Regions from separate parts of the Homo sapiens genome. Here all the other regions are linked to region 2. Evidence: promoter capture Hi-C in 16 types of primary human blood cells and fetal thymus (Javierre and others, 2016). All regions are on one chromosome and are shown on one strand. Each heading gives the region's core, a stretch centred on a gene start or on the middle of the fragment in contact. The rest is flanking DNA. Distances are from core to core; before and after follow the strand shown.

Region 1 (4,362 bases), core at 456-2,955, 440 kb before region 2:
CTCGGGAGGCTGAGGCAGGAGAATCGCTTGAACCTGGGAGGTGGAAGCTGCAGTGACGCAGTGAGCAAAGATCGTACTGCTGCACTCCAACCTGTGCAACAGAGTGAGACTCTACTTCAAAAAAAAAAAAAAAAAAAAAGAAAAAAAGGACAAATCCCATAACAAGAGTAGGGGAGGGATGGGTCCAGATTCCTTTGTACCGGAGTTCAGTTGTTTCAAGCATGGTTTTACATTAAAGAGGCACTATCTGTTTGTTGCAATGCCATTTGACTTGCTTCACTGATAGTAAGGCACAGAAATGAAATGGAGGCCCCACTATCCATGGTGGTGCCACCCACTCACTTCCTGTAGGCCAGAAAGGGGCGGGTCCAGCCTTGAGACCCAGCCCCCTCTGACTCTGGAGACAGCAGGGCCCGCCATGATACGCACAATTCTCACATCTCCAGGCTCTTCTCACAGGATTCCCTTCCCCTCCTGATCCTTATAGAATCTGCTGCTCTCTTGAGCACACCCCTTTTCCCTGCAGACGTAGGATGTGATTATTTATTCTTTTACATCCCAAGTACCTCAGGGTTGAGAGGCTGAAGTGAGACCCTCCATTACCTTCCCATCCACCAACGGCTTCCTATTTTTTTTTTTTTTTGACGGAGTCTCGCTCTGTCGCCCAGGCTGGAGTGCAGTGGCACTATCTCAGCTCACTGCAACCTCCGCCTCCTGGGTTCAAGCGATTCTTGTGCTTCAGCCTCCCAAGTAGCTGGGATTACAGAAGTGCGGCCACCACGCTTGGCTAATTTTTGTATTTTTAGTAGAGATGGGGTTTTACCATGCTGGCCAGGCTGGTCTGAGCTCCTGACCTCAGCTGATCCGCCCTCCTTGGCTTCCCAAAGTGCTGGGATTACAGGTGTGAGCCACTGCAACCGGCCATGACTTCGTTTCCTCTCCCCTTCGTTCACTGAGGCCTTTGCCACTGGCTGGACCTTCCTCTCCAAGCCATTCCCTGCCTCGCTAGGAAGGCTTCAGAAGTCACAGGTCCCTTTTTAAATACCCTGGCTTCCCGCTTACTTCTCATGTCCAGTGACTCTTGTTCTCAACCCAGTACAGCCACTCATTCCCTGGACCGTCAAACCTGAAATTGCTCCACCTCCAGAAACTACAAGTTTAAGCATCCTGTTTTCCCAGCCACATTCTTCCTCCATCTGGCTCATTCCACTATGACTATGATAACCCTTCTCTGCATTGACCAGAACACCACGTTTACTTGGATCCCCTCCCATCTTCACTTCCTTTCCCTTTGGGCAAAGTCTCCAATAGACATCATTCTGGATTACAGTTACTCTCTGGCTAGCCTCATCAGCTTCCTTGTCAATCTGTCTTCTTCTCTTACCAGCCTGGCAAAAATTCCACCTGGACAAACCTAGATCAGAAGACTCATCTGTCTTCTCTATGCCTTCACCTGGGGAGATGAGTTACACTATAAACGATTCATGTCGAACCTCAGGGCTCAACAATTCCACCGTATTTCTCTGGTCAGTTTGCTCTGCCACCTTCTGCTCCAGCTACCTAAACTTTCTACCCTTCTTAAACCACCCTCCACCTCGTTCTCAACAGATAACCTCATTGCCTACTTCTGAGAAGCAGAAGCTGTCTGACAGGACTCCCTCAACTTTTCTCCATGAGACCAGCACATACGCTGACATCCACATGCCCCTCGTCCATCTATCCTTCCAATGACACTGGCCCATCCCTGTGCTCTGAACCCTGTCTTAAAAACAATCCCCTTGACCCCTCCCCAGTCACCCCTCTATTTCTTCTCTTGCATAGCCTCACTTCATGAAAGGTTGCTATTTCTTCACCTCTCACTTGGTCTTTCAACCTGGTAAACTGGTTTCTGCTTTTACCACTCCACTGAATGGCTGCCACTGCGTTACTGACAACTTGTGAGTTGTTAAACCGAATGGACATTTTTTTCCAGACTCATTTGACTTGTGTGGCAGCAGACAGATCTTTGCTCAACACAGATCTAACCAGCTATTCCCTTGCTGAAGAATCATTTAATGAGTTCCCATTGCTTTTTGGATCAAGATTAAAAACCTTAACATGTACGGCCTGCCCTGGCTGACTGGATGCCTCACTGTCTCACCTACTGCCTTCTGGGATGGGTGCATGGTCCTGCCCATGGGGGAGTGTCCTGTCCATACAGGCAATGCCCTGCCTGCTCATGCCCATCCTCTTCCTCATCCTTCACAGGCCACTTCCTGGGAGTCTTCCTGGTTTGCCCCAAAATGAGGCTCCCCTGTGGGTATGCTCTCATCACACCTGATACTTGTCCTCATAGCAGCCTGGTGATTTGGGCATCACTTGTTTTATACCATTCTCTCTCTTACGGACTGCAAGCTCCAGTGGGCAGGGCCGTCTGCTCTGCTCACCACTGTACCCCGGCACACAGCACGCTGAAGAAATGAATGAACAAATCCAAACCCAAACTAGACTGGGTCCACTCTGGGAAGGTTCTGGGAGCAATCTTTGGCCCTGAGACTAGTTTTGCGCTACAGAGACTACCGTTTCGGGCACCTCTCTTCCTGCACAGATACCCAGAGTCAGGTTCATCCAGCTCTGTGCTCTCCTCTTCCCTCCTTTTCAGTGTGAAGCCAACTGCAGGCCAGGGACCCAGTCCAGCCACTGCCCACTTTCTTTCTTTTTTTCTTTCCTTTTTTTTTTTTTGAGATGGAGTCTCGCTCTGTCGCCCAGGCTGGAGTGCAATGGCGCGATCTCGGCTCACTGCAACCTCTGCTTCCCAGGTTCAAGCAATTCTCCTGCTTCAGCCTCCCAAATAGCTGGGATTACAGGTGCGCCCCACCACACCCAGCTGATTTTTGTATTTTTAGTAGAGACAGGGTTTCACCATATTGGCCAGGCTGGTCTCGAACTCCTGACCTCAGGTGATCCACCTGCCTGGGCCTCCCAAAGTGCTAGGATTACAGGCATGAGACACCACGCCCAGCCCTGCCCACTTTCATAAATGTTTCATTAGAATGCAGCCTCACTCATCTGTTTATGTATTGCATCTGTGGCTGCTTTCAGCTACAGTGACAGCTGAGTAGTTGTTACCAAGACCTTATGGCCGCAAAACCTAAAATATTTAGTGTCTGGGCCTTTAAAGTTTGCCGATCCCTGGTACGAAGCATCAGGCAGGACACCTACTGTGTGCTGTGGGGAAAATCGAGTAAGTGTGTCATGGTGACAAAGGGATGGTTCAGGGTTTCGATTGGAGTGATTCTCTTGTCAGCATCAATGGTCAGCATCTTCTTCAACAGGTCAATGAACTCCCGCCGGTCAGCCTTTTCTACCAACATGTCGCTCCCTTCCAAATCTGTCGTCATGTTCACCTGGACGCAAGTAAGGACAGGTTACCAAGGAAGACCCCAGCGTGCCTCCCCTCTCCTGGCTCCCCTTATTTTTTGCCCTGTAACTTCCTCCTGATCTCTCAAGCCCCCTTTCTCAGTTCCCAGGAACTCTGCCCCTATGGGAGGCACCACCCACATGTTGTCATTGCCCACAGGATGTGGCTTTTCTCTCTGCAGGAAAGGCAGAGAGGGGCTGTGCCCCAGGAAGGGGAGAGGGCTGCTGCTGGGACCTGCAAATATATCTGAATGACAGGATGTAAACTGCTCCTGCTTTCATCAGTTAAGTTGAAATGCAGCTTTCATCACTCCTCATTAAAAATAACCACAAGATGAAAAGAGTTCTGGAGACTGGTTGCATAACAATGGGAGTGTTAATACTATTGAACTGTACCCTTAACAAAGGCTAAGATGATAAATTTTATGCTATGTGTGTGTTTGCCACAATTTTTAAAAAAGAGTCACGGCCAAGCAGTACAAATAAGATACAAAAAAGTCTATGTATGTATGTATGTATGTATGTATGTATGTATGTATGCATGTATTTAACCTTTAGAGGGAAGTGGAAGGGCCTGAGTGTGCCCGTCCTCCACCTACAGCATATCATCCTTCTCATGGGTTCCCCAGTTAGGGCCAGAATTATTTTAGTCCCTGTGTTCAATGGAGTCACCTCTGGCCAAGACAGGCAGGATATCTGAACACAGGATTTTTCTTCCAAGGGTGAGTCTATACTAGGATCGACTTTAAAAGGCTTGTTTTGTGGTGATTTCTGTATTTTCCAGGACATGGTCTGGAAACCAATTTCAGTTTTCTCAGACAATCTAAGCTGCTAATCAACTGACAAGCACACTTTACTCAGAATCATGATTTTTGGTTATAGTCATCTACAGTAAGAGGGGTGCTAAGTGTTTACTGGTGTATAGCTTTGTTTCTCATTGCTTTAAAGAGAAAACTCACTTTG
Region 2 (3,957 bases), core at 360-2,859:
GAGGTCAGTCAGCCTGCATCCCTGAATGACTGTATGGATCAAGGCCCCCACCCCATGCTCACTACTGGGCCTGACATGAGCAAGAAATATCTACTCTATTAAGACAAACATACACACACACACACAAAACAGGGAGCAAGCAAGAAAGGAGGGAGCAGGGGAGGAAGGAATTCTCCTTGATGACTAGCTTCCCAGTGGTTCCCCCACAACATCCTCCCTTAAATTGGCACCCACACCACTACCTTAGACTTCCTAAAACGCAAACCTGATGGTTGCTCTCTCCTGCCATTTTACCCGCCCCATCACCTCCAGGGTGAGGCCCAAATTCTTTAGCATAAACCTCAGCAATCCCTTCCACACATCCCACTGGCCACATGCTATGCACAGAACATGGACGCTAAGTGCTGGGGAGACAGCTGGAGCCTCTGCCCTCAGGGAGTTTCTATTCTACTGGCAGCTGGGTGCCATGAGGAAAATAAACAGTTCCCTGTGACCAAGAGTAAGGGGAGGAAAAATCCTCAAATGGGATGTGATCTTTAGGTTGAGGCCTGAAGGATTAACAAATAGGGCCAACCAAGAGCAAGAAGGGCATTCCAGGCAGAGCAAAGACTCCCAGAAATGCCCAGGCTCCCAGAAATGCCCGGGGGGGGGGGGGTGTTCCAGTCACAGAAGGGTCCTGGGTGGGCAGGGACCAGTGCCCCAGGACCTTGTGGGCGATGGCAGGGAGTCTGCATTTTCCAGTTTGTAAGCAGATTAATAGGGTTGAACTGGGTTTAAAGATCTCTACCAGCTGCTGGGCAGAGAAAACCTTCATTGTCTGGCCTCAAAGCTGGCAAGGGGCGACCCGCGGCGTCGTGGAGTTCCCCTAAGCCGCCGCCTCCCTCCCTCCCCACCCCACACGGCCACACCCGGGTGTTCCACCCGGCACTACCATGCTCTATGTAAATCACTCTCTCCCCCCAGGCGTCTAGAGGACCCCACTCGACCCTGAGTCCCTCGCACTGTGCCAGGTACTCCGCAGGTGCTCATTAAACGCTCGCTTTAGTGAATGACGGTGCGAGGTCAGGGCAGAGCCACCGAATTGTCTGCTCAAACTTCAAGTAGGACCCCCAAGCGGGCTGGAAGTGCGTGAGGGCGCGCAGGACCTCCGCCCGCCGTCGCTCCCGGCGCGGCGCCTTACCCGGCTCTCAGGAACTTGCAGGCGCCGTAGACCATGAACCTGCAGAGGTGGAGCTGCGCGCAGAGCCCCACGCAGCCCGGCTTGGAGCCCTGGTGCGCGCGACACAGGCGCAGCGGCGAGGCGGCCAGCACCACGCGCTCCGGGGCCGCGGCTGCGCCGCCCGCCCGCACCGCCACCACGAAGCGCCCACGCTGCCGCAGCAGCCGCTCCAGCGCGTCGGCGCTCAAGCCCATCCGCAAGCGGCGCCGCAGCTCGGGCAACTCCAGGGCGCCCCCGGCCGCGCACAGCACCTGGGTGACCTCACCGACGACGCCGGCCTGGGCCATGGCCGCTGGGCCTGCTCCCGTCGGACCGCGGGTGGCGCGACGCGGACGGCGGCGGACGCTGGCTGGCGGGCGGCTCTCGCAGGGTGGAGACGCCGGCGGGAAACGAAACCGAAAGCGGCCCCGGGCCGGCGAAAAACAGAACCTGTGCGCCCTCGCCACGCCCCCGGTCCGCAGCTGAGCGGCTGCGCCTTCCGCCTCAGGGCCCCCAGCTGTGAGGCCGCCGCCCGACGGAAGCTCGGGAGCTCTTGAGCTCGGGCGTTCGGCCCGGAGCGCGGGCTGTGGCTGTGGCGGCTCGCGGGGGTCAGTACCTAGTCCCTGAAAATGGCTTCCCTGGATGTTTGAGGGACCAGGAGCCCCTAATGCCGCGATGCTCAGCGCGCCTTCAGTCAGAGGGAGCCTCGAGGGCGGCGGCAGCGCTGGCGGAGCCGGCTGGACGCCGCCGGTTAAAGCCGCTCAGCGTCGCCCAGGCCAAGCCCGGGCTTCGTAGACGGCTCACAGAAACAGGGACAACTGACGGGAGCTCTCACCCCTCGAACAAGTGACAAAAGCGATCACTCCGCATAGAAGACGCACTTAATTAAAGGTTCCTTTCGCCTCGGTGCATCAATGAGTTCCTTCATTTAAACATAAAAGGGTATGTCCTTTAAAAGAGCAAATCCGTGAGCCGAGATTGCGCGACTGCACTCCAGCCTGGGCGACAGAGCGAGACTCCGTCTCAAAAAATAAAATAAAATAAAATAAAATCCGTTACTCCCAGCCCCTGCTAAGTAACGATTGAACAAATATTTTAGAAGACCCTTCAGAGCAAAGGACCCTCTCACACGCTGAGAGCAATGCGAGTTGTTAGAGCCCTTTGAGGAGGTAATCCAGGAATAGCTATTAAAATTGAAAACGCGTGTGACCTTTGACCCAGCAATCTTTCCTCTCGGAATCTTCCAGAAGTAAAAGGAACAGTAAATAAGTTATGTGTGAAAGTGTTACTGGGGGAACCCTACCTGGGAGGTAGGGTTACGTGGGAACAGTGTGGTTGATCTTTAAAGACTATTACGAAGGCTGTTTAACAAGCATGCGTTAGAGCTCCGTGTGCGGATGTAGAGGGGCAGACAGCCATGATGTGGTGGTAAACGAGAAAAGATGGCTGTACAGAAATGTCTAAATAATCAAGTTGAATGATCAAGAATTAATTTTTTTAAATGTCTGAATAACAAAAAGAGAAGCCTGTGTGTGTGTGTGTGGCAGGATATTTTTGAATAAGCACGGAGAAAGATGAAGAAACACACAAGGGTAGTTGAGAGGAGGCAGTAGGAGGTATTAGGAAAATGGAAAAGGGAAGATGAGAGGCAGAAGGATTGTGGGGGGAGAGTACTTACGGTATACGGTATAACATTCACTAAAAATGAATATAAAAATCTTAACTATAGGCCAGGCACAGTGGCTCACGCCTGTAATCCCAGCACTTTGGGAGGTCAAGGCGGGCGGATCACTTGAGGTCAGTAGTTTGAGACCAGCCTGGCCAACGTGGTGAAACCCCGTCTCTGCTAAAAACGTAAAAATTAGCCGGGCGTGGTAACGGGCGCCAGTAATCCCAGCTACTCGGGAGACAGGCAGGAGAATCGCTTGAATCCGGGAGGCAGAGATTGCAGTGAGCGGAGATCATGACACTGCACTCCAGCCTGGGCGACAGAGTGAGACTCCATCTTTAAAAAAAAAAAAAAAATTACCTGTACTATTACTACAAAAATGTAAATAATAAGTGTATGGATAAAGACTAGATAGTAACATGGACAAATGAAAATGAATTTATTTAATTAGGAAATTGAATGAAGGGTTTTCTCTTGGATTTTAATTGTGATTTTAATGTTTTCATTGTATAAAATGTTAATTTTGTTTTTGTTATTGTTTTAGAGACAAGGTCTTGGTCTGTCACCCAGGCTGTAGTATAATGGTACAGTCATAGCTCACTACAACCTGGAACTTCTGGGCTCAAGCGAACCTTCCACCTTAGCCTCCCAAGTAGCTGGGCCTAGAGGCACGTGCCACCATGCCCAGATAATTTTTATATTTTTTTGTAGAGACACTGTCTCATTTGTTGCCCAGGCTGATCTTGAACTCCTGGCCTCAAGCAGTCCTCCCACCTCAGATTCCTAAAGTGCTGGGATTACAGTGAGCCACCACGCCTAGCCTAAAATGTTAATTTTTAATTTAAAATGTTAGGCAGAGTGCAGTGGCTCACGCATGTAATCCCAGCATTTTGGGAGGCCGAGGTGGGTGGATCACTTGAGGTCAGGAGTTCAAGACCAGCCTGGCCAACTTGGTGAAACCCCATCTCTCCTAAAAATACAAAAATTAGCCAGGTGTGATGGTGTGTGCCTGTAATCCCAGCTACCTGGGAGGCTGAGGCAGGAAAATCGTTTGAACCAGGGAGGCGGAGGTTGCAGTGAGTCAAGATCG
Region 3 (4,188 bases), core at 1,226-3,725, 480 kb before region 2:
GCCTGAGGCACTGGGCTGGAAAAGCCCTAATGACCCCATCCTGCCTCTACGCTTCATCCTCAGTGGCAGCCCCTGAATGGGGCCTGCGCCCACTGGGTCTCACATGTGGTCACCACCCAGGAAGAGTCCCCAGTTTCCTGTAGCGACCTCAGGTGACAGACATGAGGTCCTCCTGAGAAGTAACAGCTTCTCACATCTAGACAAAAGCTTCCTGGCGTTCCCTTTCCTTCCCTTTTCAGTTATGCCGCCACGCAGGTGCAGGCTGGCTTGGGTGTGGTTTGTGGCGGAATAGCGGGACGCGCAGACTTCTTCTGGTTTAGTCCCCACATTCTTCCACTGTGAGCATGAGCAAGGGAAACGCTAAATAGATGCTACAAAATCTACAGTGAGCCACTGAGTTTATTCAGAAGGTTACGTTCTCAGCCTTTATTCCAGGGCCCAATTTTCAAGACAAGCCTTCGCGGGACAGGAGGAGTCCTCTGAAGATAGCAGTGCATGAGCAGAGAAACACACATGGCTTGGTCTCGCCGCCCAGCAGCTGATTCCGAGGAGGGGCTGAGAGGGGCCAATTTCACCCTTCCCTAGCAAGACTCGGAGGAGGTTCTTCCTACACAAGAAGCCCATCTGACCACCAGGGCTTCCTGGCAGAGAGTGGTGCTAGATGTCAGCCAGGAACTCCCCAGACCAGGTATTCTTCCAGGCTCAGGCATAAAGAACCAGGAGGCTTTTATTTTCTATTAATCAACCTAGTTGGAAGCAGAGCCATTGTAAAGGCAGAGAGGTATTGATTACAGGATTAAAGAAGGAAAACGCTGCTTATACAATGTGCTGTTCAGCAGAAGCCTCCCCTGGATACTTGAATAAAATCCTCGGTAAGGGTCGCCTGCAGTCACTGGGCACTTTCTATTGTACTAGCTCCCATACAGCAACATTTCTAGCAGCAGAAAAGCAGGAAAACCACTCTCCAGGGAGAGGTTCCTGCCCTGTCCTGGCCCCAAATTACCTGGCACCAGGCTATCACACTCCACCAATACTTCGCTGGCCTGGGTTTTCAGGGGTGGCACGATGATGGTTCGGGGGTTCCCCGTGCAGTGATTCTCCAGGCTCCCCTTGGTGTCAAAGGCATTGGCATTGTTGTGCCCAGCACGCTGCTGCACGGAGTAGGGGCTGGTGTTGCTGGAGGAGTCGGAGTAGGGGGAGTCGTGGACTGTGACACAGCTGATGACGTTTTTTCTTTGCTTGGAGACAGTGCTGAAAATGCAAAGGGAGAAGTCAGAGGTGGGAGAAGGCCGTGAGGTGAGACACCCAACTAGCACTTCATGCCCTGGGGCAGGGGAGGGAGGCAGAGGGGAGAGGGCAGGAACAGGGCTTTTGCCCTCCCTAACCCCCATAGGGAGACTGGGCATGCAAAAGTCCCCTGTGTAGCCGGCAGCAGGGGGACATGTGAAGACATGGAGAAGGGGCTGGTGCTGGACCCACAGGGGCTTCTGGAAACTAGGGAGTGAGATGCTTCCGGGCTGGCCTGGGCTCTTCCTGTGCAGCAGAGCTCAGCAGAGCTGCAGGGGAGGCACCTGCAGCCCAGAGCTGGGTACAACCCCCGTGGGCCTGCCAGAATGGGACATCTGAGCAAGGAGAGAACCAGCAAGAACCCAGCAACCTGGGGACCTGGGTTAGGAGTAAACCTCGCTGGGAGAAGAATGTCATAAGCTTAGGTTTGGTGCCTGCGGCCTGGCAAAGCTTATGCAGGAGGGAGCAGAATGTCCAATGGGATGCAGCGTGAGGCTCTGAGGGGGCTGCATGCACACAGCACAGTGCAGACATGCTGCAGAGAACGCAGAGCTAGAGTTGACACCCTCTGCCTCTCCTTACTTTGAGTGTGCTCTGTGGGCTGTGTGCAGGCCACTACGACCTCTGCAGTCCCCTTTTCAGGAGCCAGGCTCACCTGCAGCTTTTCCACTGCCTGGGCCAAGGGATCGGGGGAGATGGTATTGCACCGGGGCCTGGTGGGAAGGCCCCTGCCAGGTTGATGCTGTGTGAAAGCCACTCTGAAGCCCTGGCCTTCATCTTATATGTGGAACTTCATACAATAGGGAGGCACTGGCTTTGGATAGCTCTTGGCCGGCATGTTTGTTCAGAGATATTTAAGTTAGTGTGGTTACTTTGGGAACTACTTCTGTTTGTCTTCAAACTCAGTGAGAGGCTGCTGGCATGATGGATGTGAAATTTATTGTTTATTGTGTGCTTATTTAAGACTTTAAAATGAATGTGCATCTATTTTTATATATTGATCATTTATTTTTAAGAAATAAAAATTGCCTAGGCAACTGGTCAGTTTCCAGCTAATTGGATGAGAGAAGCAGCTGGTATTTACGGAGCCTCATAGAGTCACAGCCACCTCCCGGGTATCTTGTTTGAGGCCACACAGCCAGGCCAGGCTCTTCCCATGATGGATCTCCACCACCCTAGAGGCAGCAGGGAAGTGGGCAAATTCCAGAGCCCACAGCAGCCAGGCAGGAGGGACAGAAGCAGAGCCTGTCTGCTGAGCTACAGAAGGCTGGGGGATCTGGGGGGTGCAGTCCCCAGGAGGCGCTGGCCCTGCTCCCCAACGCCCAGCGCTCCTGACATCTAGGCTGGATAATTCTTCCAGTGGCTGGACACTGTCCTCTCTGGTTCAGGGTGCCTAACCGTGTTCGTGGGTGAGAACACGAACCTTGGAGTCAGCTGTCTAACTTCGGCATGTGCTGGTGACAGGGCGGTGGGCAGCTATTTAACCTCTCAGTGATTCAGTGGCCTCATCAGTAAAAGGTAGGTAATAATTGTACCTATATCATAGGCTTGTTTTGAGAACTAAGTGAGAAAATACAAGTGCTTTCAATGATACACAACACATGGTAAGTATTCCATAATAGCTGCTATTCTTCTTCTTCTTACAAGTTGTGTTACCTTAGTTAACATGTGAAAACAGGTTTGCAAAAAACTTATTTAGGCAAAGAGAATTCTATCAGGGTAAGGACTTGCTGGAAAAGTTTCCTTTTTTCTAGTTTATGAATAAACCAGAAGATTGAAATCAAAGAAAATTAAAACTCATGATATCTCGGAGATCTACGCGGGGTACTACAGGGAATACCTATACAAAGAAATATGTGTCTCTGCCCTCGAGGAGATTAAAATCTCAGTGGAGGACTGTATAACAACATGACAAGTTAAATAGTAAAAGCTTTAAAATAACCAGTTAGAGAGAATAATGGATGTCACAAAGCCTCCGTGATTAACTGTCAGATGAATCGTACAGATGATAATTGTTAAGAACTCAGAAGAAGGTGAGGAATGAATTGGTTGCATATATTTATGGCTCTTCATGTTAACTTAAAGTAGATAAATTTTAATTAATAAAGACCCACACCTCCCAGTTATGACAGTTTAAATGTGAAATGTCCATATGCTTGTTCCTCAAAAAGCTAAACACAGAGTTACCCTATAGCAATTCCATTCCTAAGTACATTCTCAAAGGATTGGAAACAGGTACTCAGATACATGTAAGCCAATGTTCACTGCAGCACTATTCAAAATACCAAGAGGTAGAAACGACCCGAGTGTCCATCAGCTGGTGAATGAATAGAAAATATGGTGTATCCATACAGTGGAATACTATTCAGTCATGAAAATGAATGAATGCTGGGAGGGGTGGCTCATGCCTGTAATCTCGGTGCTTTGGGAGGCTGAGGTGGGAGGATTGCTTGAGGCTGGGGGTTCAAGACCAGCCTGGGCAACACAGTAAGAGCCAATCTCTACAAACAATTAAAAAAATAAGCAAAGTATGGTGGTGCATGCCTGTAGTCCCAGCTGTTTGGGAGGCTGAGGTGGGAGCCCAGGAGTTTGAGGCTGCAGTGAGCTATGATCACACCACTGCACTCCAGCCTGGGTGTCAGAGTGAAACCCTGTCTCCAAAAAAAAAAAGTTCTGATACATGCTACAATATGGATGAACCTCGAAAATATTAAATGAAATAAACCAGACACAAAAGGACAAATAGTTTGTTTGAGTCTACATATATGAAATATCTAGAACAGGCAAATTCATACAGACAGAAAATACATTAGAGGTTACCAGAGGTTGGGGGCTAGGGGAGAGGAGAGTGGGAAGTTACTGATTAATGGTATAGTTTTTGGTTGGGGTAGTGGAAAAGTT
Region 4 (4,112 bases), core at 1,507-4,006, 420 kb after region 2:
GAAAACAAACAAACAAACAAACAAAACACAACTTTCAAGGCCAAGCATGGTGGCTCACACCTGTAATCCCAGCACTTTAGGAGGCCGAGGCGGGTGAAACACTTGAGCTTAGGAGTTCAAGACCAGCCTAGGCAACAGGGTGAAACCCTGTCTCTATCAAAAATGCAAAAAAAAATTAGCCTGGGGTGGTGGCACGTGCCTGTAATTCCAGCTACTGGGGAGGTTCAAGCAGGAGGATTGCTTGAGCCTGGGAGGTGGAGGCTGCAATGAGCCAAGACACTGCCACTGCATTCCAGCCTAGGGGACAGAGCGAGACCCTATCTCAAAAAATACAAATAAATACAAATAAAAATCAAGAAAAGAGTTTTTTGAAAAATTAAAAATTAAACACTTGTTTTTTTGTGTATTATTTCAACTACCAGAACACTTATCTGCCATTATAGAAGCACTCTAATAAAGAGGGGTCTAAATTCAAATTACAACTTCTCTTTAAGTATTAACTGTTCTAACCTCACACACTCAAGGTAACTCAAGGTAGCAGATGCAATGAGCATTTCTGTTTCTTAGTATTGCTCTAATAAAAGATATGAAAAACAGCCTGGTGGTGGCAGCATAACACAGTTTCTGAGGAAAGGTATAAAACACAATGAAAACCCCAGGAGAAACATTAGAAAAAATGTAACCAGTAGGAAAATACAGGTGATTCCGAGCAATTAAAAACATTCTAATCAAAACTTCTAAGTGAAGAAAATAGCTTTAGTCAAATTCCTAGATACAGGAGTGATGTGCTATAGGGAGAAATGAGCACAAACACTAAAACACACCTCTACCTGATTCTTTAGGTGATGTTTACCTAGCAAACATATTGAAAATGTTTATTTATAATACAGTACATACATCTGCACTCTCTTGAACACCTAATATTGTGTCTCCCATTGCTGGCGTGCAATGTTTACTTACTGAATGATTGAATAAGGTAGTTCCAGAAAAAATATACATGTGGCCGGGCGTAATCCCACCTACTCAGGAGGCTGAGGCAGGAGAATCGCTTGAACCCAGGAGGCAGAGGTTGCAGTGAGCTGAGATCTCGCCACTGCACTCCAGCCTGGGCGACAGAGCGACACTCCATCTCAAAAAAAAAAAAAAAAAAGGAAGATACACATGTGTTCTGTTAAGTACTTTGTCTTTGGTAATTTACAAGTTTTGTTTTTTTTTTTTTTAATGAAAGCAGAGGAATCTTACAAAGTTCCTGTTAAAGTGGGTAATTCTAGGTATATGACTTTATCAACATCACTCAAGCATTTACTCAGTATCTGCTCAGGATACTCAGTAACTGAGTATCCTGTTCATGATACTGGAACTGAGGAAAGAAACTGAGGAACTGAGGAAAGAAAGCCCTGCAGATAAAATAGGGCCCTACTCTTCTCAGAGAGCTCAAAGTGAACGATAAGGATCATAGACCGGGTGCGGTGGCTCACGCCTCTAATCCCAGCACTTTGGGAGGCTGAGGCCGGCAGATCACCTGAGGTCGGGAGTTCAAGACCAGCCTGACCAACACGGAGAAAGCCCGTCTCTACTAAAAATACAAAATTAGTCAGGTGGGCATGGTGGTGCACGCCTGTAATCCCAGCTACTAAGGCATCTGTAATGCCAGAGACTGAGGCAGGAGAATCAATTAAACCTGGGAGGCGGGGGTTGTGGTAAGTAGAGATCACACCATTGCACTCCAACCTGGGAAACAAGAGGGAAACTCTGTCTCAAAAAAAAAAAAAAAAAAATGATAGTTGACATTCCTCTATCTAAAGGAGAAAATAGTTTTAAGTAAGAGATCATGTTGGTACCTAGAACAACCGAAAACAATGTCAAACACTAAAACCCCAGACCTATCAAGGAATCTGCACAACAATAAAAAACTGTCTCAAGCAAAAGCTATACAAAAAACCCCCAAAAACTAGTAAATCTAAGCTCTTTCTTTTCTTTCTTTTTCTTTTTTGTTTTTCTTCTGACAGAGTTTCACTTTCGCCCAGGCTGGAGTGAAGTGGTGTGATATTGGCTCACCGCAACCTCTGCCTCCTGGGTTCAAGCAACTCCCTGCCTCAGCCTCCGGAGTAGCTGAGATTACAAGCGCCTGTCACCACGCCCGGCTAATGTTTTTTGTATTTTCAGTAGAGACGGGGTTTCACCATCTTGGCCAGGCTGGTCTTGAGCTCCTGACCTCGTGATCCACCTGCCTTGGCCTCCCAAAGTGCTGGGATTACAGGTGTGAGCCACTGTGCCCGGCCTAATTTTTGTATTCTTAGTAGAGACAGGGTTTCACCATGTTGGCCAGGCTGGTCTCGAACTCCTTACCTCAGGCGATCCGCCCGCCTCAGCCTCCCAAAATGCTGGGATTACAGGCGTGAGCCACCACGCCGACCTAGCCACCCCGACAGGCCGGTTTCAATCTTTTAAAAGATGTAACTAGCACATATAGATCAACTGTAGCATTGTAAAAGGGAAACAGATATTCAAATAATTTGCTCCATGAGTAGAAACTTTAAAATCATCATTCCTGGCAATATTCCACTTTTACAATCCACCGATGAATAAGACAAGTGACCTGAAATTGCGTTTATGCTTTCTACATCCCATTATGTAAAATAATTAAGCTTATCCTTCACACCTTAAATGTATCATATCAAAGGCTGAGAGACCTTCGAAGGTCGCCAGGATAAATGTATCACATCAAAGACTGGGAAGGTTTCAAATTTCACCCTTAATACTACAAGTTCTAATTAGGAATCATTTTTACATACTTGCATATAAATTATACCACCCAGGTGAAAACCGGCATTTCAGTTGATTTATTCAACTGATAGAAAAAGAAAAGCTTACAGTCGCTACTGATCACTATTTAAAAACCGGAAAATAAAAAACGTACAATTAAATGCCCTCTTCTGCGTAGAGCTAGGTAGTTTTTTACAACCATACACATCCATACAACCGCCATCCCTTAATTTTTCTAATATTTTCGTCTCGCATATCAAACCAAAACCAAACCTCTCTCTCTTCCGGGAGCGAAGAGCCCTTTCACTCCCTTCGGAAGATGCGTAAATTTCAAAAGAGGAACATAGCGCTGGGGGAGGGTAATAATCTGCAGCTCAAAAAAACCGCGGGTGGAGAAGACGACCCCGGCCCCCGAACGCCTGCTTCTAAGACAAAGCTCAGCACCGCCAACCTCGACAAACATACAAAGAAGAAATACAAAAGCTTCTTCTCACAGTTGGGCGGAGGATGGGGGGCGGAGGGACGGAGGGACGTGAAAAGACGTTACAAACGGATGGCACGGAGAGAGGAGAGGGCCGGGAGCCAGGCAAGCTCGCTGGGGCCCTCGGCGGGGTGTCTAGGCCCGGAGAGGATCGCTGGGAGACCGGCCTCAAGTGACCACCTCCCGAGCCCCGGGAGCCGGAGGCAGCGGCGGGGGCATCCTTCCAGCGGCAGGGGAGGAGCCAGCCCACCTCTCCCCGATGCGCTCGCAGCCAGCTCAGGCAGCGCTCAGGGAAGTGTAAGCGGCGGTGCAGCCCCGCGGCTCCGCAGTAATCGCGCACCGCCAGGCCTCCGCGGACAGCGCTGAGGGCTCCGCGGCCCAGCGGGGGTTGACGCAGTGACTGGGGGAACGCGGCGGCAGCGGGGGCCGCGAGGGCTGCAGAGATCGAGACAACGCCGGTCCCCGCCCTCCCGCGCCTCTAGCCGCAGGCCGGCCGCCCTCCTCCCTCCCGCGCCGCAGGCTTGGCCCGCGGCCCCCTCCCCGCGCCCGGCGCTCCGCCGCGCAACGTCCTACCTGCAGGTGACCTGTTTAGTCCAGCCGCCGCCGCTGCCGTCGCTGCCGCCGCCCCCTCCGCCCGCCCCCAGGGACGGGGCGGTGACTGTGGGGATCGGGGTGGGGGAGGCTGCTGCCGCCGTCGCCGCTGCCGCTCCTGCTCCTGATGTTGTGGCTGTTGTTCCGGGAGTTGCAGCCTCCGCCATTACTGTTTATCCCACACAGCAAAGGCCCCGGAACTTCCGGGATCACATAGTTCCGGTCCGGCTGCGGGGAGAGGACGGCGAGGCCAGGCGAGGGGAGGGGAAGGACA
Region 5 (4,238 bases), core at 360-2,859, 500 kb before region 2:
GGAATTCTGATGTATGCCATAACATGAATGAACCCTAAAGACATTATGCTAAGTGAGATAGACCAGACACAAAAGGACAAATATATGATTCTACTTACATGAAATATCTAGGATAGGCAGATTCATGGAGACAGAGTAGAAGGGTGGTTGCTAGGCACCGGGTGGAGGGAGAAATGGGGAGTTGTTAATGGGGACAGAACTTGTGTTTGGGATGATGAAAAAATTCTGGAAATGGTGGTGACACCTATACAATAATGTGAACGTATTTAACGTTGCTAGTAGTCCACTTAAAATGGTAATTTTATATTATGTATATTTTACCATAATTTAAGACAAAAAGAGTGTCAGAAGGCTGGGAAACCCCAGTCCCAGCAGGATGTGGCGTTTCTTAGGCTTGCTGAGGTGGAGCTGCTGCAGGCACAGCGCCTGGACGGGGCTGTGGCGCACGTAGCTCAAGTGCGCAGTGGCAAGGGCCCTGGCAATGGGCCAGCAAGCCACGAGGCTCCGGGTGCTGATGGTGTCTGGTGAGACGGCAGGGCCTGGGTGCGGAGGATCCGGGATGCATATTGGAAAGCTTCCAGGACAGCAGGTGACAGCCACACCTTAGGTGTCAGGGACAGAGATTGGGAGCAGATGGGGCTGAAATGGCTTGGAAGAGGCAGCAGGAAGCTGGGAGACTCTTAGCCCCACTCAACTGCATGGGAATTGGTAGTAATGTGATCTCAAGGCCCCCCACCTCTCTCTGCAAATGTTCAATGCAGTGGTGGCTTCTACACATTTCCAGAGCCATTAAATAATCTCGGCCCGGCGCAGTGGCTCATGCCTGTAATCCCAGCACTTTGGGAGGCCGAGGCAGGTGGATCATCTGAGGTCAGGAGTTCGAGACCAGCCTGACCAAAAAATGGAGAAACCCCATCTCTACTAAAAATACAAAATTAGCCGGGCGTGGTGGTGCATGCCTGTAATCCCAGCTACTCGGGAGGCTGAGGCAAGAGAATCACTTGAACCTGGGAGGCGGAGTTTGCAGTGAGCCAGGATCGTGCCATTGCCCTCCAGCCTGGGCAACAAGAGCAAAACTCCATCTAAATAAACAAACAAACCCCAAATATGTTACTTGTAACAATAACCTCTTCGCTTTTATGACAGGTCTGGTTCCAGGATAAATAAGCATGCCAGGCAGGTGTACAGTGATTTCAAACAGTTTAATGTAATTCCAAGACAAAGTGTGATTACATTTCTACACATATACAATATGCATATGTGAGTTTACAAATTTTAATTAATAAGTCATTTCACCTCGGAGACCGAAAAAATGATCAAAAAGAAACTATGAGTAACAAGCTATAACATAGTTCACCACAATGGGACCCCCCCCCCTTTTTCTCACCCTACAGTTAGTAATATTACAATTAAAATAACTATATTCTTCTATATTTTTTCTGTTAAAATCATCTCATAAATTTACAATGCTATTATTAGTTTCCAAGACTAATATAAATTCACTCCATTTTTCTACAACGAAAATGATTAATTTAGAAGCACACGACGTCATGATGAAAAACACAAGCATTTTAGTAGCAAGGACTTGATCAGTTAAGAATTAGTTTTCTTGTAAAACATTCTAAAGCCAAGTAAAATATCCATTCTTATAACATACCTATAATATGAGACTAAGGAATAGGTTACATATAGGTCTACAACACATTGGTTTGTCTTTAAAAAAACAAAAGTAGACATTTATAAATAAAAAAGAGGGACAATTCACATAGGAAAAAGAGGTACACGAGAAAATACTGTTGCACGCAATAATTTTCACACAGATTAACATGGATTAACACTTTTTATTACAGAAACCGTACGGTGAAGGAACACAACAGACCAGGGCTTTCATAGGGTTATTGAGATTGAGCTGAGATGACCTGGGAGAGAAAGATCTAGGTGAGATGACCCTGGGGAGGGAGCCACGTTCCTTGGACCTGGTGACTTAGTGTCGCCGGGTCTCCTCTTCCCTGTTCTCATTTTGGGGAGTGAGTCTTTCTATCCAGTGTCCTGAATTCATGAGCAGTTGAAAGGTAAACATTTCTGCAGATCCATTCTCTTTCTATCCTAATGGATACCATTTTTGGAAACGTGACAGAGTATCAGAGGCTGCAGCTCAGTACACGTGGTCAAAGCAAAACGGGATGGAAACTTCCAGTCACTCTGATTTGTTGCCCCCGTCACCCACTGATGCGCTTGAAGCTGGGACCCAGTGAGACAGCAGCAGCACCCTACAGGGCCTGCTGGCTCTGCCGTGGTGAGGTGGATGACAAGGGCCCGGCGCCACGCCTCAGCCCCATGTGTGCGGAGTGGCCTGGGACACAGCCCATGCACGTCCAAGACACCAGTCTTGACTCCGACCTCTAAAGAGCTCCTTCTCCTCATCTGTAAAGCTATACTTCTCCTATCCAATTTGGTTTGATATATATACACAAACATATATATCAACATCTATCTCTATACAGTGATTCTACTAAATTAGAAATTCTGCTGCCCCAAAGTATGACTTTCTTGTCTATTTCATTTGGTTAAAAAAATGCACACACAGAGGATGAAGAGATGATTTGGGGGCTAGAGATGACTGTGCCCTGGAAAGTCCATGGAAGAAGCTTGAAGTGAGCAGGAACACAAAAGGGAGGAGAGCAGAAACGGGGGACCGACTGACTCAGGGCAGCGCTGACGGGAACATCTGCTTGGGGTGGGGCGGGGCGGGGGTGTGCTCTCTGTTCCATTTGTTAGTTACAGGAAGCTACCAAGGATGCACATGGTCAAGTCACTTTCTACTTCCCAAGTTCCTCCTTATAACCTGAGCCAAACAATTTCAACAATGACAATCCATTGCCCCTTCAGCCCAGCAGGCGACTCTGACAGGGAGGTGTGACCACCAGTCTCAAGGCTGAGTGGGGCCTTCTTGCTGGCTCTCGCGCTTTCTGGGAGTCCTGGGTGCCTTGGCCCAGGGCAGTGGTGACAGCAGGGTGGAGGCAGAGGTGGCCCCGGGGACAGTGACCCTATATAAGGAAGGGGGCGGTGCCAGGAGAGATTCGTTTGGAGATTGGTTACAAGGAAGCGAGGGAGAGCAGAGGCAGAGCCCTTTTTCAGATACAACATACTTACTTTTCAAATGAACAAAAGGCAATTTCTATGTTTTAAAAATATAAGCCCCAAAAACAATGACACAAAATTCATTTGGTTAATTCATGTAAAGGAAAAAACAGCAACACCACCACACAAACAGGAAAGTGGGAGTATGATTAGGAGGGGTGAGATGAAAACTATTTTACAGTAACATTTCCACCAAAAGACTGTCCTAAGAACACGCTGTCAATACAGTTCACAGGGAAAAAGCAAATGTGGTATTTTTTTGTATTTTTTAAAAGCTCCCTGGTCCCAGGTGTTTTGCAGTTTTCAAGGTCTTATCTGCTAAAGGAATGCCCTTTAGGTCACAGCAGGTCCTCTGCAGTTTGGTGGTGGCACAAGAGAAAACATAAAAGAAACCAAGACTCAGGGAAACTGCCATTCCCCCAGTCTGTTTCTGCATGACAGTGGGGCCCATTCCTGTCTCGAAGCATCTTCTTGTTCCAAATATGATGTCTGTTTAGAGTGGGTCTCAATGGACCAGGCTGAGCTGCCCCTCTGTCTCTGCCTCCTCCTGCTCAGCCCTGACCATCTCTGAGAGGATGCTAAGGTCCCCCTCCCACCGAACTAGACTTTGAGTCTAAGCTGGACAATGAGTAAAACGTAAACATAGCCTTTTACATTGATTTTGCTTTTAAGGGGAAAACGAATAAATGACAGCAGATATATGGAAAACCCAGCCAGCGACCATGGGAATAGGGGTATATGGTCCTCCCCTACAAAACGCTGATCAAAATATCACCCCCGGCCCAGAAGTAGCAGCTGTGCCTTCATGGTCACCTGAATCCCAGTCTCTTCTACTGCCTGGTGCCTGGAAATCAGTGGATCTATTAATAAGTTAAATATTCAAATCAAGACAAAAATCAATGAACCAGGTTATCTGTTCTCAATGACTCTTCCAAGATGTCAGAGAGAAGGCCTTGAAGACAAGTGTTTAGACGACACGCATGAGACCTTCGCATCTGGCCCGGGCTGCGGACTCACACCTTTTCCCTCCATCTGGATTGCCTTTCATGTTCTCTTGAGTTCACGTGGAAAGTAATAATCCAGAGGGAAGTGCGCAT
Region 6 (4,383 bases), core at 571-3,070, 460 kb before region 2:
GGAGACCGAGGAGGGCAGACGGCTTGAGCTCAAGAGTTTGAGACCAGCCTGGGCAACATGGCAAAACCCCCTTTCTACCAGAAATACAAAAAATTAGCTGGGCATGGTGGGGTGCACCTATGGGCCCAGCTACTCGGGAGGCTGAGGTGGCAGGATCACTTAAGCCTGGGAGGCAGAGGTTGCATGAGCCGAGATTGTGCCACTGCACTCCAGCCTGGGTGACAGAGCGAGACACTGTCTCAAAAAAAAAAAAAAAGTTTCACCTTAATTTTATAAAAAAAATTTTTAAATGAAGAAAAAGCGGAATTTACACAGTGTCTTCAATGGGTTATTTTATTCCACTCTGTGACGTAGGCAGGATATCTTAGCAATACCATTTTATTAAAGAAGAAATTATACTTTACGTGAAAAACAAACTTTGAAGCCTGGGAGCCATATGCTTCTGGTGTTAGGAAGTGTTAATGTTCTTTTGAATTCCCTCAGTGGCTGGAACAATGCTCAGGCATATAGCAGCTGATCAATTAATTACACGCTTGCTGAATGAATAATTAGATTAACTGAAGGTTGACTAGACAAGTATAAAGTTGGTATTAAATCAAAATTAATAACAGTCATGATAGAAATACTGGCAGCCCTCATCCTAAAAACGGGTTATGTTTCACAATTCTTATAATTTGGGTTGTATGAAGCTTAAAGCCTTGTTTTCCCACAGAAATGTTAAAGGTGGTGACTGACTCAGAGATTGGCCCATAAGAGCTCATTTAACACATAATAAAATTCAAAGCTAAAGGATAATTCATTTGAATTTTAGAAAATTATAAGAACCTATTGTTGCAACATGGGGAAAAGGATGAACAGGAAAAAAGAAGTAGATGAACACTTTTGTAGGGATTTTGATAGCGCCTTTTGGGCATTTACATGGACTTTAGAAACTCATATTATGGCTTCTTTTTTTTTTTTTTTTTTTTTGAGATGGAGTCTCAGTCTGTTGCCCAGGCTGGAGTGCAGTGGTGCGATCTCGGCTCACTGCAACCTCTGCCTCCTGGGTTCAAGCGATTCTCCTGCCTCAGCCTCCCGAGTAGCTGGGATTACAGGCGTGCACTGCCACGCCCAGCTAATTTTTGTATTTTTAGTAGAGGCGGGGTTTCGCCATGCTGACCAGGCTGGTCTCAAACTCCTGACCTCAGGTGATCTGCCTGCCTTGGCTTCCCAAAGTGCTGGGATTACAGACGTGAGCCACTGCATCCGACCAAGAAACTGATATTATGGCTTCTTTATTTTGTTGTAGCTCTTTCTCCTGTAGACAGGTGGCACTCTTTCTCTTTTGAGTCAGGCCTAGCACTGGTACTTCTGTTTGTTAGCCACAATAATAGATGTTCTTTGGCTCACACATGAAATGGAGAGAGACCAGGAAGAGAGTATGCTGGCTTTAGATGTCTCCTGTGGTCACTAGGTAAGAGATGTCAAAACGAAAGGAAGGAGGGAGGAGGAATAAGAAAATATGTAGGAATTAGTAAGTGTATGTGTATTTCTGAAATTAGATGAGCTATAAATGCTGAAAGACAAAAGGGAAAAAAAGGAATATGTCATGTGTGTGGTCTTTTAGGAGAAAAAGGGGCGAGGGAAAAAAAAAAACCCAGTTGGTCAGACAGCTTTCCACTCGGCTGCTCCTAAGGAGCTGGAGGAGGAAAGGCAATCTTGCTGAGCATGGGCCGATGTGATAGTGGGGAGGGAAGATGACAGGTTTATTTAATGCCTGTCATGTACCGGGCACTGCGATGGTGCATGTTAAATATAGGCCAAGTGCTTTGTATTTTATCTTACTTTAAACCTCCCAACAATCCTGTGAAGCAGGCATTACTATCCCCACTTTATTGAAGAAGAAACTGAGGTGCATAAAGGTTAACTTGCCCCAGGTCATGCAGAGCCAGGATTGAACTCAGCTCTACATGGTTTGAGATGGAGTCTCACTCTGTTGCCCAGGCTGGAGTGGTGGCATGAGGGCGTTGCCAGAAGGGAAGTGAGTGGGACTGTGGGGAAGGGCCCAGGTACTCTGTACTGGGCAGAAAATGAACTGGAGGAATGGAGGAAGCTGCAGTAGGGGTCTGACTGGGGGCTTATATCACCACCTTTCTTCTTTTCTCGGAGAGATCTTAATTCACAATAGCCTTGTAGGTCAGAATAAGAACTGTGGGAGGTTCCCTGTGTGATATGGAGGCTGTCAGGGGGTTGAGGGGAGTGACCTGTCCTGATATTCGTGCAGAATGAGAGATAGCCCAATAGGGCCATGAGGAGTTGGGGACAACTTGGAGGGTTGCCATCTGGCTCTGCACTGGTGAAGGGGCCATTGTGGTGGTGTTCGGGGGAAGGTACAAGGGTATCTAGCCATAAAAATAACAGAGGAGCGCATCTGTGAGGAAATCATGAGTTGGGCAGGGTAGAGTTCTGGAAACAGATGCAGGGGGTATGCTGTGCTGGCAGGCAGTCAGGTGGACGCCTCTGGGGTGTGTGGGAAGTAGACTCTGATCTGTAAGATATGACTATTAACTGAAGAGGCACACTCAGCAAACATGCCAGCATTTACCCTTCCAAATAAACCCCATTCTGTCAAGCCATCCCGTGGGAGGTCAGATAGACTCCAGAGTACCCCCGTCTCAAACATCTTCAGAACACTTTCTAGAATTGCTTAGGGCTTTGGGGACCCTCTTCTGCATTCTTTCACTGGTGACAGACCTTTGTTTTCTGAACGTAGAATTTAATTCTGAGAAACTACCAAACATCATCCAGAACCAAGTCTGGTGAATTACACTGATGAGTAAATGACATAACTGAATTCTGGGTGGAAATGACAACCAAGCATAAATTAATGAAACTGATTTTCTTGTATCCTGGTATATTATTTAAAAATTGCTTCTTGTTACCCTGCACTCATAGTCCACACAATATTTTTAGAAGCTTTAAAAAGCTCTCTACAAACCGGGGAATTGAAGTACAGGCCAGCCTGGCAGCCCTGTGTTGGCAGTGGACGTGCCTCCCATCCCAGACACACCCACTCACCCTAGAGGGGTTTCCTGCTTACCTCCAGTCCGCCAGCTGCTGGGTGCCTGCCATGGTCTCGGGAATCACGGTGGCATGCTGCACTGATGTGTGGGTGGCCACTCCAGTCAGTTGCTGCCATGCTGGGGGAAGCAGGATCTGCTGGGTCCCACTTGGCCAAGCCTGCTGTAGAACACAGGACATGTGCAATGACCATGTTTGCTAATCACATAATTGATTTGCATGAACCCACACTTATTCTGTGCCTGGGGTTGTGCTAGACATTCTCATGGGTGTGAGAGTGAGGGCCTGGTCTCTGGCCTCAAAAACTAAAGTAAGGGGAGATAAACAATGAACATACAGGCCGGGTGCAGTGGCTCACGCCTGTAATCCTAGCACTTTGGGAGGCTGAGGAGAGCGGATCACGAGGTCAGGAGATCCAGACCATCCTGGCTAACACAGTGAAACCCCATCTCTACTAAAAATACAAAAAATTAGCTGGGCGTGGTAGCGGGCACCTGTAGTCCCAGCTACTTGGGAGGCTAAGGCAGGAGAATGGCATGAACCTGGGAGGTGGAGCTTGAAGAAGTGAGCCGAGATGGCGCCACTGCACTCCAGCCTGGGCGACAGAGCGAGACTCCGTCTCAAAAAAAAAAAAAAAAAAAAAAAAAAGAACATATATGAACTAAGTAGAAGATAATTAAGTACAGGGACACAGCTGTATGGAAGGGATTCATTCATGTTGAAGAATGATTTCTTTATAAATTTGCTCTAATGAGCAATGCTTGAAGTTTCTGAAAGTTTATTTATTTACTTGTTCTGTCCCACAACTATGTACAGGGGATTAGGGTAGTTGAGTTGAGCTAGATGAGGGTGACCGCTGGCCCTCAAGAAGCTTTCTGCCTAGTATCCTTTATTTAACATTTTACCTTTGATTTATCAATTAGAATCTAGGTTCCAGCTTGTGTTATCTTCTGAATCTAAGTTTACACAATTCTAAGATCACCAAATATCTGGAACCTACATCTGAGAGCAAGCAAGTATGAAGTAAAATTCTTAGCTGTGACTATAGCTTAATTGAGAATTACTTTGATTTCTCAAAGCAAAAATGAGAGAGAGGCGGAAGTCACTGCTTGAACCTAATTTTTCTAAGAAATCTAAAATGAACGTTTGTGATTCTTCCTTGATAGATTCACTGGTGTGTGTGTGTGTGTGTGTGTGTGTGTATGTTGTGTTTTAAGCTCTTTTAATCCATGATCACTATTCTGCTTGTCTTTGGTCATTAGATGATTCAGACTGAATACCACTGCCTAAAGTTGGACACTTAAAGCATAGTCACTAAGGTAA
Region 7 (4,020 bases), core at 25-2,524, 420 kb before region 2:
AGCAGGGAGGAGGAGGAGGCTATTTCAGAGGAATTGGAGCCAGAGGTAAGAGAGAGCTGCACAGAAGACAGCCAGAAAGGCAAGGGCTGGAAAGCACCTCGGGGCAGCTGCATGGAGAGACAACACGCCCTGTGACCACAGGCAAGCCTGCTGGGAAAACAGGGGCAGCCTCCCCACAGGATGAATCCACACCATGCCTAGGGGGATCCAGAAGGTCCAAGTGGAGATGTAGATGGCCATTGAGGTGAGCTAATCCCAGGTCAACCTGTGATTGGATTCTTAAAAAGACACACAGCTTCCTAGGCAAACAGGAGATCAAAGAGAAATAGTTTTGTCTTTGATTAGGGTGATAGGCAGACAAGCAAAAGGAAAAAGGGACCCAGAGATGAAGCTCTAGGAGCAAAACATGGGGGAGGTTGACAAGGGGCCCACCCATTGCGCTGGCTTCCACGGAGCCATCCTTGGAATGGCCAAGCCAAACACCGTGGACCCCAAGATCTCTGTGCACTCTGCAGCAGGGTACTTTTGCCTGGTTATAAGCTGAAGAAATTAAGGTGGAGAGCTGCTGCAAGGGAACAGGGTTCCAACTCCAAAAGGAGAGCTGGGGGGACAGACACGACACCCAAACTTCTGGGTGGTTGCAGCTTGATGTAATACACGTAGAACCACTGTTGCAGAGATTTTCTACCTAAGGGGCCGCTACTGATGTCCATAAAACTGTGTGCTAAGGAGGATCATTTCAGACCCTCACTGATGATTCTGTCATAACTGAGTATCTTCAGCTATCACCAATACAAGTGCTGAAGACTTCAGAATGAACCATCATATCCATATGGAGGTTGATATAATTGCAGTTGGGTCTAGATGTTGACATCATTCTCATGGCACACTTGGACAGTCTCTTAAAGGATGCAGGCTTCCTTGATTCAACTGGCCATTCCCTGTATAATGTTAGAATCAGATTGGCGGTTTTTTCTATTCATATTGGCAGTGAACATCTTGGCTCTGAATATGTACTAAATACACACACACACACACACACACACACACATTTTCACACTGATCCTTCGTTCTTAGTCCTGCTCCAACTCTGCTAAGCGTAGCACCAAAATCTAACTCACTTGTTTACATGCCAGAGGAGAAGGTTGCATCTGCAACTGAAATGAATATAATCTCCAAAGGCTTCTGGTGATGTTGGTGCAAACTGGAAACCAGTTCTCAGATGTCCAGAGCATACTGGCCTCTAAATTTGTGGTTATGTGCTTGTGCATGTAGAATAAAGTGAAGAAAGTACAGCCAGGGACATGGATCCACCTAAACGATATTGACTTGACTTGGTGAAATAAGAAAAGCAAGAAGGGAAGGAAAGAAGAAAAAAAGAAAACTATGAATTGTAATGTCAATGAGGAAGGTTCCTAGAAGAACCAGTTTGGACTCCATGATAAGTATTTCAAAGATACTCACGCTGCCCTGTAATTCCTGAGATCCTTATACTCCTGACACGTGCTGTGCCTGCTTTACCCATCCCTGGCCTGGGTGGCCCAATATCCCCCAATCTGGTCTCTGGTGCTATACCATGAAGCTCTGCGTTGCTGGAGAAAGCCTGTTCTGACCTCCCAGCACTCTACCAGACTACAGTGTCACCAGGCCACGCTTTATGCTTGGTGACTTTTGTCAAAGAATGTGCTCAACAAATGTTTGCAGAAGCACCTATCAGCCAGAGAAATGGAACCATGTGTCTCTGCAGGTGCCTATCTATGTAATCTTTTCATATGTATACTGCTCCAGGCTCTTTTTAAATGTTTTTATCTTTTTTTTTAATTATGAAAGAGAATATATATACAAAGAAGTATACAACAAAAACGTATACCTTAACAACTTATTGGAAAACAAAGACCAGTGTCACTACCAGCCAGGTGAAGAAACAGAGCACTGTCAACATCACAAAAGCCCTGTGGTATTTCCTCCCATCCGCTGTCCCTCCTCCTCAAAGGGGCTCTGAAGTCACCATGTGTGGGAGGTGACATGCAGCCTGCACACTCAAGCCTGGGTATGGGTGCACATCGGTGTGGCAGCCCCCATGCCTCGCTGTGCTCTGCCACTGTGCTCAGATGAGGCTCCTGCCCAGGTGAGCGCAAAGGCCAGAGGCTGGGAATCCCAACACAGTGGCTGAGAAAGGAGCCAGGCCTCAGCCATTCTTTTATGATGGTCCTCATCATGGATCCTTTTGTTGACTGTTTTTCTTCCGATTCATTGTTAGTCTGTTGACTGAAGCCGAGGGTTGAAACTGGGCATTTAGAGCTGTGTTGGGAAGCCTGCTGATTCTGGGAAGGCCTAACCCAAGTCCCACTGTCACCTGCTGTCACTTTTCAGCTTTCTGGGACCACTCTTCTTTTCTCTGCACTGGCAAGGGATTTGGAATTTCAATTCCTGTGGATCAACTGCAGATGTGGCGTCTTCACTTTATTCAGCCTGGTGATGTTACCCACTTATAGTGATCATGAGATGTGAGGCTGGGGAAAAGGCTGGTCTCTTCCACACTAACACATTAATTCAAGGTTCACCCTCTACTCTAGATGGATGCATACTAAGAAAGTAACATCACTTATGTGCAACTTTACTGATTTAAATGCAAAACTTCTCATTGCTTCAACATTTAGCTTCGACTGGTTCATGGTGAGGCCTCAATAAGTGTTTGCTGGATGAATGAATGAACCAACAACAGGCAGAAGAAACACGATGCTTTCCTTTCCAAGGTTCCCAGTGCCTCCACTGGAGAAGCCCCGAATCCCCAACTCTCAGATGAGTGACTGTGCCATAGACAAGGCTCATCTTTGGGGTATTTTCTTTCCTTACAGCACCATCTGATCATGTGGCTTGTGGAGCTAAGTCACAGTCAGTCTTTATGGCTGACAGTCTGGGATAAAAGACAGAAACTTGCTCCTTCTTTGAAAGGGAGATACATTCAGTGTCACCAGCCGGAGACATACCAATTAAGAGAACAGAAGCCAGAAACTTGAGCTATGAAAAGGAACCCACTCAGTAAAAATGTCAAACACAAGTTAGAGAGTGAATTTCCATTGCAGCCTAAGGGATATTCCAATAAAACAGGTATCGTCTGAGGAGGTCTCCCCCACTGCACTGTGTGTTAGGTGGAAAACTACTGAGAAAGCAGGGCCGAAACCCACTAATACCCTACCTAAGCAACTTTCCAAATAAAGCCACTACTCCTGGCCGATGGAGTAGGCTCTGATCCTGTAAGTACAGGATGCGGCCTGACTCTAAGCAGGCAGGTGTGAGTGCGGTGAGGGGAGCCAGGTGGATGAGGCTGGCCTTGCTCTCTGGAGACGTGCACGCCATCAAACCAGCAAAACAGGACTCACTGAGGGTATGTTTTTTACCCAATTTTAGAGCAGGGAGCATCCACAGAGTAAATGTGGCCATGGCCCGTCTGCTCACAGCACTCCTGGTTAGGACCTGCTGTGGTCCGGACAAGAGCGAGCTCTCACGGTGACTGGTTGGTTATTCCAGCAGGAGTTAGGAACAAGAAGATCTTGCCAAACAAAATGGGCATAAACTCCAGGTCTCCAGCCAAGGGCAGCTTACTCAGGGGAAACCTTCCAACACTCAACTTTTCTTAAAGGAGCTGAAAAAGAACAAACCAAACCAAACCAAACCAAAGTTTGCCTTCTTGTGTTTGGGTCACAGAGGAAATACTAAGCTGGCTCTTTACACCTCCCACTAGGGGGCGCTGAAGTGCAACAGACACAGGCTCGGAAAGCCACCTGAACCTTCAACTTCCATGGAGACAGAGGGACGCGACCCACTGGGTAAGGGAACAAACGGTTCCCTTAAGGCTGGTGCGGTGGCTCACCCATGCACTGCCAGCACTTTGGGAAGCCAAGGCGGGAGGATCACTTGAGGCCAGGAGTTCAAGAGTAGCCTGGGCAACATAGTAAGACTCCGTCCCTACAAAAAATTTTTTAAAAAATTAGCCAGGAGTGGTTGTACACACCTGTA

The links. The method cuts DNA at HindIII sites, captures the fragments that hold promoters and counts their contacts. A CHiCAGO score of 5 or more calls a contact.
Region 1: a fragment that was not itself captured here is called in contact with the fragment with the promoter of PARP12 in region 2 in 6 of 17 cell types (fetal thymus, activated CD4 T cells, naive CD4 T cells and 3 more); the score reaches 8.4 in fetal thymus.
Region 3: a contact is called between a fragment that was not itself captured here and the fragment with the promoter of PARP12 in region 2, in 1 of 17 cell types (monocytes). The highest score is 5.2, in monocytes.
Region 4: a contact is called between a fragment that was not itself captured here and the fragment with the promoter of PARP12 in region 2, in 2 of 17 cell types (erythroblasts and non-activated CD4 T cells). The highest score is 5.7, in erythroblasts.
Region 5: a fragment that was not itself captured here is called in contact with the fragment with the promoter of PARP12 in region 2 in 1 of 17 cell types (M2 macrophages); the score reaches 6.4 in M2 macrophages.
Region 6: a fragment that was not itself captured here is called in contact with the fragment with the promoter of PARP12 in region 2 in 5 of 17 cell types (monocytes, fetal thymus, naive CD8 T cells and 2 more); the score reaches 11.7 in monocytes.
Region 7: a contact is called between a fragment that was not itself captured here and the fragment with the promoter of PARP12 in region 2, in 8 of 17 cell types (fetal thymus, neutrophils, naive CD8 T cells and 5 more). The highest score is 9.2, in fetal thymus.

The regions. Positions count from the first base shown.
Region 1 is chr7:139,623,400-139,627,761 of GRCh38, forward strand. It overlaps HIPK2 (homeodomain interacting protein kinase 2), which reads right to left. Exons shown (of 15, transcript NM_022740.5): 6 at 3,202-3,386. Among named protein-coding and RNA genes, the nearest start is that of CLEC2L, 100 kb to the left of the region's middle. RefSeq lists a silencer at 2,990-3,200. The HindIII fragment of the contact is 7,682 bases long and covers 1-4,362 here.
Region 2 is chr7:140,061,342-140,065,298 of GRCh38, forward strand. It overlaps PARP12 (poly(ADP-ribose) polymerase family member 12), which reads right to left and starts at 1,610. Exons shown (of 12, transcript NM_022750.4): 1 at 1,181-1,610. The coding sequence starts at 1,506. RefSeq lists a silencer at 1,218-1,537 and an enhancer at 1,548-1,757. The HindIII fragment of the contact is 6,136 bases long and covers 1-3,957 here.
Region 3 is chr7:139,582,814-139,587,001 of GRCh38, forward strand. HIPK2 (homeodomain interacting protein kinase 2) reads right to left here. Exons shown (of 15, transcript NM_022740.5): 13 at 1,004-1,251. It overlaps LOC105375530 (a long non-coding RNA gene), which reads left to right and starts at 2,720. Exons shown (of 4, transcript XR_001745383.2): 1 at 2,720-2,805. The HindIII fragment of the contact is 1,480 bases long and covers 1,736-3,215 here.
Region 4 is chr7:140,475,340-140,479,451 of GRCh38, forward strand. MKRN1 (makorin ring finger protein 1) reads right to left here. Exons shown (of 8, transcript NM_013446.4): 1 at 3,821-4,112. The coding sequence starts at 4,005. Among named protein-coding and RNA genes, the nearest start is that of MKRN1, 2.1 kb to the right of the region's middle. RefSeq lists silencers at 3,397-3,476, 3,757-3,896 and an enhancer at 3,432-4,112. The HindIII fragment of the contact is 221 bases long and covers 2,647-2,867 here.
Region 5 is chr7:139,560,387-139,564,624 of GRCh38, forward strand. HIPK2 (homeodomain interacting protein kinase 2) reads right to left here. Exons shown (of 15, transcript NM_022740.5): 15 at 1,184-4,238. Among named protein-coding and RNA genes, the nearest start is that of CLEC2L, 39 kb to the left of the region's middle. The HindIII fragment of the contact is 2,074 bases long and covers 573-2,646 here.
Region 6 is chr7:139,601,002-139,605,384 of GRCh38, forward strand. It overlaps HIPK2 (homeodomain interacting protein kinase 2), which reads right to left. Exons shown (of 15, transcript NM_022740.5): 10 at 3,080-3,222. The region is part of intron 2 of LOC105375530 (a long non-coding RNA gene); the gene reads left to right. Among named protein-coding and RNA genes, the nearest start is that of CLEC2L, 80 kb to the left of the region's middle. The HindIII fragment of the contact is 2,266 bases long and covers 688-2,953 here.
Region 7 is chr7:139,642,360-139,646,379 of GRCh38, forward strand. All of the region lies in intron 2 of HIPK2 (homeodomain interacting protein kinase 2), which reads right to left. Among named protein-coding and RNA genes, the nearest start is that of CLEC2L, 120 kb to the left of the region's middle. The HindIII fragment of the contact is 6,710 bases long and covers 1-4,020 here.